Linked DNA regions of Homo sapiens: regions 1 and 3 are each linked to region 2. The links are contacts of gene promoters, found by promoter capture Hi-C in human tissues and cell types (Jung and others, 2019). All regions are on one chromosome and are shown on one strand. The core of a region is centred on a gene start or on the middle of the fragment in contact, and the rest is flanking DNA. Distances in the headings are between cores, read along the strand shown. Region 1 overlaps CNNM1 (cyclin and CBS domain divalent metal cation transport mediator 1). Region 2 holds the start of CNNM1 (cyclin and CBS domain divalent metal cation transport mediator 1). Region 3 overlaps CNNM1 (cyclin and CBS domain divalent metal cation transport mediator 1).

What was found. The method cuts DNA at HindIII sites, captures the fragments that hold promoters and counts their contacts. A contact is called where the count stands out against the background at its distance.
Region 1: a contact is called between a fragment that was not itself captured here and the fragment with the promoter of CNNM1 in region 2, in 1 of the 25 tissues and cell types used here (thymus).
Region 3: a contact is called between a fragment that was not itself captured here and the fragment with the promoter of CNNM1 in region 2, in 1 of the 25 tissues and cell types used here (H1 embryonic stem cells).

Annotation. Positions count from the first base shown.
Region 1 is chr10:99,390,427-99,393,553 of GRCh38, forward strand. CNNM1 (cyclin and CBS domain divalent metal cation transport mediator 1) reads left to right here. Exons shown (of 11, transcript NM_020348.3): 11 at 1,011-3,127. The coding sequence ends at 1,090. Among named protein-coding and RNA genes, the nearest start is that of GOT1, 39 kb to the right of the region's middle. The HindIII fragment of the contact is 6,285 bases long and covers 1-3,127 here.
Region 2 is chr10:99,327,855-99,331,127 of GRCh38, forward strand. It overlaps CNNM1 (cyclin and CBS domain divalent metal cation transport mediator 1), which reads left to right and starts at 1,502. Exons shown (of 11, transcript NM_020348.3): 1 at 1,502-3,106. The coding sequence starts at 1,534. The HindIII fragment of the contact is 11,915 bases long and covers 1-3,273 here.
Region 3 is chr10:99,369,171-99,372,530 of GRCh38, forward strand. All of the region lies in intron 6 of CNNM1 (cyclin and CBS domain divalent metal cation transport mediator 1), which reads left to right. Among named protein-coding and RNA genes, the nearest start is that of CNNM1, 41 kb to the left of the region's middle. The HindIII fragment of the contact is 3,893 bases long and covers 1-3,318 here.

The sequences.
Region 1 (3,127 bases), core at 445-2,944, 63 kb after region 2:
CCCAAATGAGAGCCACCCTGCTGATGGTTAGTAGGAAAAGCATGTTAGCATCTTCCTCTTGGGGGAGGAGCCATGGACTCCTCTTAGAAACCCTAATGAGGTACAATTGTGGAAATCCGCAGAAGGGGTTGGGCCAGCACTGCACCCTTGATAGTTTTGGGATCTGTCCCATTCAGTTGTTTGTCCTCTAGGACAGAAGTCTGCACACCATGCCCACAGGTCAATTCTGACCTCCCTCCTTTACTTGTTTTTGTAAGTAAGGACTTATTGGATCACAGACAGATCCATTTGTTATCTATGGCAACAATGTCAGAGTCGAGTAATTGTGACAGAGACCATATGGCCCACAGGCCTCTAATATTTTCTGTCTAGTCCTTTAAAGAATTGGTGTCCAGGAGACTCAATAGAAAGAGAGCAATCTCCTCCACAGATGGAAGTCAATGGTGGAGAGAACAAGGTGAAGATATTCCTTCCTAAAAACAGACCTGGGAACAGATTGCTCTCTCATCCTTGAGGACAACTATGTAATTATGCCCACCTGCCCCACTGCAGAAGGGAGGTTGCTTCAGAGCTAGAGAACGCAGGTCCCTGGAAATGGCTTGCAGCTACAGCCACCAACCCTGATTCATGGGACATCAAAGTCTATGAGATTGGTCCTCTCTGAGGGTGTCTGGCAGTCAGAGGGGCTGGCCCCCAAGGGGCGCAGGAGGCATGGGCCTGAGGTGTTACATGGGCTTTACTCAGTCCCCTCCAGGAAGTCTCAATTCCAGGCACCAGCCTGGGTTTGTGACTTTTCAGAGATGGCATCTTATGTGGAAAGTACGTCCTAATCTTTCAAGATGTAAATATGCCAATATCAGCACCAGCATACAATGCCGGTTAGTTCTAACCAAGCTGTCAAGGGCTTTGTCTCCATTTCTGCTTCTGTTTTGAAAAGAACTCAGACTGCCAAGCAATTATGAATGTTCCTCCAGTGTTACAGGCTGATACTTGCAACTTGTTTTTTTCAGGTGGCCAAAAAAGGAAGAGGTCACCAGAAGGAGAGAGAACCTCTGAGGACAACTCCAATTTAACACCTCTGATCACATGACAGGGCAAAGCCAGCATTCACTGGGTGTGTGAAATTCCAGAGCTTTGGGGGAGAATCCACCCTCCCATCATCTGCTTCCCCCAAGGCCTCCCACAGGTGACAGAATGTTCTGCCTTCCCTTCCATCTCTTCACCCCTAGCTGTCAGTTTGGCAGATTTTCCCTCGTTACCTCCAGTTCGACTCAGAACCTTGACATGGCCATAACAGAAGGAGGTGCCTCTGATAGAACATGCTAGAAATGGTCTTTTCCACAGCATAGTCTGGGACTGGAAAAGAGATGTCTGACTGCAAGCTGACAATGCCACTCTGGGACCCCTGATGCTCTTCTTTGTTCTTTGGGTCCCCTGATGCCATAGGAGACCTATCGTCTTGGAACTTGCCATTCTTTCCTCCAGAACAAAATGTTAACTTTCTAACACATTTCATGCATAGCTTGGCTCAGAAGGTGCCATTGGCAGACAGGCACATGGGAGGCTGGAGTAGGAGGTCTGAAGATTAGTTCAGGGGATGGACCAAGAATTTCCCCCAGAGCTTTAAAGAAGTGGGACTCAGCCATGTTGGCGCGTGATTGACATTACAGCACAGAAAACTGTTAGTGACTGGTTTCCTGTTAGATAAGGGTTCCAGCAGCCTGGGGCAGTATGTCTCAGCTGGAATGGAAAGAATGTGAGATGGAACCTCAAGTCACTGTTTTTACCAGGGACACATCTGTTTTGGCTCCCAATCAGCAGTCTTCAATCGATCAATAATTCTGCTCTGGAAGAGAAGGAACAGGGAGCAGAGAGACCCAACTGGGAGCCAGAGATGGAACTTCAGGTCTTAAGTGCAAATCAAAGCAAAAAACAAACAAAACTTACATGGAAAAACTGTAAGTGCTGAAAGCAAGTTTAGCCATGACAAACCAAAGAGTGCCCAGGTCAGCCAAGAAAGATACATAATCTCATGGGACTTCAGTGGGAGTTACACAGGAATGTTGAAGAATCATTCTTCTTTTTCATGCATTTGTCCTTCTCCCACCCCCTTACTACACCCTAGCAGATCAGCTGAGTGTACTTTATTCCAAGAACTTACTGGATCTCTGGTTTTTCTCCTGAAGTTGGGGCAGGTGCAATTCCAAGCATAACCACCAGATGGCAGAGTGACCGCGCATACCTGCTTCCAAGAATAAAACAGTTCTGAAAAGCAACCGCAAAGCCGGGCGCGGTGGCTCACACCTGTAATCCCAACAGTTTGGAAGACCGAGGCGGGTGGATCACTTGAAGTCAGGAGTTTGAGACCAGCCTGGCCAACATGGTGAAACCCCATCTCTCCTGGGCATGTAGTCCCAGCTACTCGGGAGGCTGAGGCAGGAGAATCGCTTGAACCTGGGAGGCAGAGGTTGCAGTGAGCTGAGATCACACCACTGCACTTCATCCTAGGCAACAGAGCGAGACTCTGTCTCCCCCCGCAAAAAAAAAAAAGAAAGAAAGAAAGAGAAAAGAAAAGAAAAGCAACCACAGCCAGCCTTAGGGAAAACTTGGAAGTAAGTGAAATTTGTCTTCAGAATAACTATCTCCCTTTCTGATCTGTCTCCTACTCTTTAGATGTTCTCAGTCAAGTACTCACTGAACTCATTGATCGAGTGCTGTCTGCTAAATCTCCAAACCATTCCCAAACCTTTCCCCGTAGTATACCATCCAGCTTCCCTCCCCTTCCTCCAAAACCCTCCCTCCCACCTCCCCACACCCATTGAGTCATTCACAGGCAGGAGGGAGACTGATCATTCCTCTGGGTTATCTGCATCTCAAAAGAAAATGCTTACCCACAGGAACTGTTAACTCAGGGGTTCTTAACTTGGGGTCCATCACCCCAGGGGGTCCATAGTTGGACTTCAGAGGGTCTATGAAACCCCTAAAACTGTCAGTATTTAATGTATTTATTCTTGTATGTTTTTTCCAGAGCATTAAAGCTTTCATAAGGTTCTCAAAGGTCTCAGACCTACAAAGAGTTAAAACAAACAGACAAACAAAAAAAAACACTACTATTTTAAATAGTGGA
Region 2 (3,273 bases), core at 252-2,751:
TCTTGGTGATAATAGATCTGTATTTTGAGTGCAGTGATGGTCACATACATCCATACATGTGATAAAATGATAGAGAACTATATACACACATTACACCAATATCAACTTCCTGCTTTTGATATTGTACTATAATTAAGATGTAACCCGCCAGGCACGGTGGCTCATGCCTGTAATCCCAGCACTTTGCGAGGCCGAGGCAGGCGGATCACCTGAGGTCAGGAGTTCGAGACCAGCCTGGCCAACGTGGTGAAACCCCGTCTCTACCAAAAAAAAAAAAAAAAAAAATTAGCCGGGCGTGATGGCGGGCGCCTGTAATCCCAGCTACTCAGGAGGCTGAGGTAGGAGAATCGCTTGAACCTGGAAAGCGGAGGTTGCAGTCAGCCGAGATCGCGCCATTGCACGTCAGCCTGGGTGACAAGAGCGAAACTCCGTCTCAAAATAAATAAATTAATTAAAAGATGTAAACGGCGGGTCGCGGTGGCTCACGCCTGTAATCCCAGCACCCTGGGAGGCCGAGGCAGATGGATCATTTGAAGTCAGGGATTCGAGACCAGCTTGGCCAACATGGTGAGACCCCATCTCTACTAAAAATATAAAAATTAGCTGGGCGCGGTGGCGCACGCCTGTAATCCCAGCTACTCAGGAGGCTGAGGTAGGAGAATCGCTTGAACCCGGGAGGTGGAGGTTGCAGTGAGCCAAAATTGTGCCACTGCACTCCACCCTGGGCGACAGAGCAAGACTCCATCTCAAAATAAATAAATAAATAAATAAATCTCATATAAGTGTGTGTGTGTGTACAAATTTATACATAAATACTTTTAACACAAATGGTAGCATATTATACTTGCTGTTCTGCACCTTACTTTGTTTCTACAATTACTTTGGAGATTTTTTTCCGTATCACATATACAACAGATCCACCGCATTATTTTTTATTGCCGCATAGTATTCCATTGCACAGTGGTTTCACTTATTTCAACAGTTTCTTATTGATGGACATTCGGATCTTAACTAAGAATTGAACTTAAATAATCCAGAAATGTTTACAATAATGAAAGGTCGGCTGGAGTTGAGGCTAAAAGTTTTCACATATTCAAGACTTGACTCCAGAATATTCTTTTGACCAGAAGGGGGAATGCAAGTGGCAGGAGAAGCGAAAAGCTGGGAAATTTCCCGGGCCAATGGGGAAGCAGTGGAGCCGGCAGGGAATTACTGCCGGGTAGGAGTTCGCAGAGGAGCACCTTACTTTTGGAGTAGGAGGCCATGCTGCAAACCCAGACTTTTCAGGCTGCATCTCAGATATACCGAAGTGTGTACCCGCTACGCACAGTGCGGTGATGCCTGGCCACCTCCAGCCTCCAGCGGGGACCTCCTGCCCAGGTGGAGTCTGAATGCCCACCGCCACCAGCCCACGCGCGCAGTGGGCGTACACGTGGTGACCTGCCTGCGGCTGGGTTCCCAGCTCCGGCTCCTCCTCCCTCCAGCTCTCGCTCGGCTTCCTGCAGTATCACGTGCAGCTGCGCTGGGTGCAGGATGGCGGCGGCCGCGGCGGCGGCAGCAGCGGTGGGTGTCAGGCTCCGGGACTGCTGCAGCCGAGGCGCTGTGCTCCTGCTCTTCTTTTCCCTGTCTCCTCGGCCCCCGGCCGCCGCCGCCTGGCTGCTGGGCCTGCGGCCCGAGGACACTGCTGGAGGCCGCGTGTCCCTGGAGGGGGGCACCCTGCGCGCCGCCGAAGGCACCAGCTTCCTCCTGCGTGTCTATTTCCAGCCAGGACCGCCGGCCACCGCCGCACCGGTGCCCTCACCGACCCTCAACTCGGGGGAGAATGGCACCGGCGACTGGGCTCCGCGGCTCGTGTTCATCGAGGAGCCCCCGGGCGGTGGCGGCGTGGCCCCCAGCGCGGTCCCCACTCGCCCCCCGGGACCGCAGCGCTGCAGGGAGCAGAGCGACTGGGCATCGGACGTGGAAGTCCTGGGGCCCTTGCGTCCCGGGGGCGTGGCAGGCTCGGCCCTGGTCCAGGTGCGAGTGCGGGAGCTGCGCAAGGGCGAAGCGGAGCGGGGCGGCGCGGGCGGTGGCGGGAAGCTCTTTTCACTCTGCGCCTGGGATGGGCGCGCGTGGCACCACCACGGCGCCGCCGGCGGCTTCCTGCTGCGCGTTCGCCCGCGGTTGTACGGCCCAGGCGGGGACCTGCTGCCCCCTGCGTGGCTGCGGGCGCTCGGGGCGCTCCTGCTGCTAGCCTTGTCGGCCCTGTTCAGCGGCCTGCGCCTGAGCCTGCTGTCGCTGGACCCGGTGGAGTTACGGGTGCTGCGGAACAGCGGCTCGGCCGCCGAGCAGGAGCAGGCGCGCCGCGTGCAGGCCGTTCGCGGCAGGGGGACCCATCTGCTCTGCACCCTACTCCTGGGCCAAGCCGGAGCCAACGCGGCCCTGGCTGGCTGGCTGTACACCTCGCTGCCGCCGGGCTTCGGGGGCACCGGGGAAGACTACAGCGAAGAGGGGATCCACTTCCCGTGGCTGCCGGCGCTCGTGTGCACCGGCGCGGTATTCCTGGGCGCCGAAATCTGCCCCTACTCAGTGTGTTCGCGGCACGGGCTGGCCATCGCCTCGCACAGCGTGTGCCTGACCCGGCTTCTGATGGCAGCCGCCTTCCCCGTGTGCTACCCGCTGGGCCGCCTGCTGGACTGGGCGCTGCGCCAGGAGATAAGCACCTTCTACACGCGGGAGAAGTTGCTGGAGACGTTGCGGGCCGCAGACCCCTACAGTGACCTGGTGAAGGAGGAGCTCAACATCATACAGGGTGCCCTGGAGCTGCGCACCAAAGTTGTGGAGGAGGTGCTGACCCCCCTGGGAGACTGCTTCATGCTGCGCTCAGACGCGGTGCTCGACTTCGCCACTGTCTCCGAGATCCTGCGCAGCGGCTACACTCGCATCCCAGTGTACGAGGGTGACCAGCGGCACAACATTGTGGACATTTTATTTGTCAAGGACTTGGCCTTCGTGGACCCCGACGACTGCACCCCGCTCCTCACTGTCACCCGCTTCTACAACCGGCCCCTGCATTGTGTTTTCAATGACACCCGACTGGACACGGTTCTGGAGGAGTTTAAGAAGGGTGAGCAGTAGTCTATCTTCTCCCCCAACTCCTATCCCCTTCAAAGGTATTATCCTTTCCTAACCACGTGAGGCTCTAGGTACCCAAAGCAATTTCTCTCCTATGGTACTAAAAACCCAAGGAAGACTCTACCTCTTGGCTCCCTGGCTATTTTCATCTCACTTCTG
Region 3 (3,360 bases), core at 122-2,621, 41 kb after region 2:
GTTTAACCTCTTTTGTTGATAAATGAAATAGTCACTGGGTTTCTTTTTAATCGGGTAACAATTCCTCATAGAGCTAGACAATGATTCAATGACTGAGTAGAATGCCACAAATCTGAATGATCAACCGTTTGTTTTCATCTCCAGTGGTTGTTCTCTTGGGCTCATAGAGCAAGTAATGACTAAACCAGGAATGTATTTGTTAAATTGCCCTGCAGTTAGAACACAGTCCAATTTCCTCTACCCTCTAAATCTGTATCCCTTATCACGTTGCTGGGGTAATGATACTAAGACCCCACCATATCCTCAGTCATCGAGAAATCGCTTATGTTTCTCTGTCTATATAGTAGACCCTCAACATTTAAAAAAGGTCATGTTTTGAGACTTCAAACCCTCCAATTTGCAACCTCAGAAGTATTTATGTTGACTTCTGTTTTTTCCCAAAATCACTTTTTTTCATCAAAAACCATCTGGTCCTCATGTTGATCTATACAAGATAAGTTAACCACCTTCTCAAATTTCACCAAAGTTTTCTCTCTCTCTCTCGATGGTGATTTTCCACTAAGAAATAGTTTTTCTTGCTTTGTGAGAGCTCATGCCTTCATAATGACTACAGGATCGGACAGTCAATGTGAAATGCCAATCTGGTGCCCTCACCAGCTAAATGGTCTACTCCTACATGCCCGCAAAATTAGAAATGACCACTTGATGGACCTTCAAGTTCCTTCACATGCAGTGAATCTTGGTGAATGCCAAGAGTGTGCTGTGAAGGTTCAGAGGAAAGGGGAGATGCACATTTTAAAAGACTTTCAGCCCAAAAGATCAAAGCGAGGATGTGTTTTCCTTTTTAATTAACCTTCAGTTAACCAGATGACCTAGTTAATTGTAACTTCCCAGTTAAAGGAAGGTTAATTCTAGTTCATCTGTATTGATTATTATAAAGTCCATGATAACCCAATGTCAGACAGAGATGAAAGTGATTCCCTCCTGCTGTGCAGAACCCCCAGGAAGTGCTGAGACTTCTGATCCAACTCTGGGTGGTGTCATGTGCCCCTGAGAGTATTTTCAACTTTCCCCCCTTTTCCATGACTGTGGATATTCAACACAACAGGAGATTAGTGTCAACACAATGGAAACCCTACCCATAAAGAGGTAAGCTTATTCCCACCCTTGGTTTAACTCTGCAGGGTGGAGCAATGGTGGGTACAGTGGGAGAAAACCAGAGGTAGGGAATGCCTAGTTTCTCCTTTGGCTTATTCCTCTCCACCTTGTGTCTGGTCTCTATCTAGAGCTAATCACTGTGCCTTCCCAGTGATCAGCTGACATCCACAGGACCTATTCTGTGGTATTTCCTCTGTCACTCTTGCTTTTGTTCCAAATCATTAAAAGAAGTAGCCTCAGAGGTCTGGGATTTTTGTAGAAAGAAGTTCCAGGTAACTTCTGGCCCTGTAAGCACAGACTTTGGAACCAAGGGCTCTTATTCAGTGCTCGATCGTCCATTCATAGTGTGCATTGAGATCAACAATGATGCCATTTTCTCCTAGAATATACCAAAGTACCTAAAAATTTTTTTTACTTTGCAAAATGTGCTAAGTGGAAATATTGATTTCTGATCCAGATACATTAATTTACATATATGCTAAATCTCAACCGTATCTTATATGGGAGGAAAATAAATCCTAGAGATTAGTAGGGTCTTGAAGTCTAAGAAAGAATTGTCATTGTCTGATTTGACTCCCCACAATCACTTTGGGAGATAGGCAGGAATAGTCATTGAAAAACAACAGATTAAAAAACAGGTTCTGAGAAAGTCAGTCAGTGTTGTATGTGTATTAGGTAGGCAGAGGGACAAGGACTGGAATCTAAGTCTTAGATCCTGCTCTCCACCTACTGCCTGGGACCTTGCTGTACCTCTGAATATAGACATTTTATGCCCCCTAGAGGGCTGTGATTTATTTGCATTTTGAAAGCAGTGCTAATTACGAATCTGGTGCTCGCACTAGATTGAGGCTAGGGGTCTCTGCACCAAATATTGCCATCATTATCCATAGGGAGTCTCTTTCTATTTGAGCCTTAGTTTGAAATAAGAACACAGTGGTTCACAGATTACCTCCAGGTTGTGGTGTGGTTAACCAACTTGGCAGGTGCTTTCATTTAAAAATGAAACTTCTGATCAGGGGTTTCCCCTGAAAGTACACAGCCCCACTGCAATTAGCATTCCCTTTCCCCATATTCACTCCTTCTTTCTTCTCCTGGTGGTGGAGATAATTTTGAATTCCCCATAACAGTCCTTTCAAATCCACAAAAGCACAGAGACAGAGACTTTGGAACCAACGGTTCTTTTTCAGTGCTCGGTTATCTATTCATAATGTGCACTGAGATCAATAATGACAGTTTTCTGCTTGAATATACAGGGAATCTCTAAAAATAATATTTCTACTTTGCAAAATGTGGTAAGTGGAAATATTCCTTCGGGTTGGCTCTTGTGTGATGAACATTTGGGAACCATTAAAGCTCCGTGTAAAGTGAATGAGTTCATCTGGGATCCTAACTTGGGCTTAGAGTTCACATCGTAGTTTTGACAGACAGCTGGCTTTGGTGTTCGGTTGTCTGATGCTAAATATTGCCCCAGTATAATGAATTTTAATAATTCTAGTTGGTACTCTTACAGGTCTATGTAATTAAGCTTCCTCATCCATTTTGGAGAACAGAGATGGCCCACGGCACAATCACAGTCAGACCAAAGTAGGCCATTCCCCCTCATCCCTCACTGATGGTACAAAAGATGTAGGCAGGCAACCCCTGAACCCTCCTTTTTCCTCAAATCCTCATAGGGAAAATGGGAGCTTAGCATTCTACTTCTGTATCTTGGGGTCTGATTCCAGGATAGGGTTGTGAAGGCTCCCTGGATACAGGTGTCACAAATGAAGCAAGAGTCCCAGAGCTGCTGTGTATAGATTTTCAGGGCCCCTGACTATTACTACAGAAGGAGAGGAGATTCCATCCAGCCCCGATTACAGTGTGAAGTCCTCTTCCATACCCTTTGCCACCCTGCCCCCAATTTTACCCTAGTGCCTTCCCCACCCAAACCTCAGCAATCCAAGTAGCCAACCCAGGACAGATATCTGTTAGAGACTGACCACTCAAAGGCTGCAGGAATGAGGTCTGCCACAATTTCACAGAGCAGAAAACCCTGCTCCCCATCACCCGGTTACACCTGAGCCAACCTGAGGGTCTGATGCAAGAGCAAGAGTGGGCAAGGGATGGGTTGGTTGCTTGGCCTGCTGCCTGCTGACAGGTCCCGGGTTGGTGTCACATATCATACTGTTTGATCTGTCTCCTTCCAGACCTCCTTGCATTATA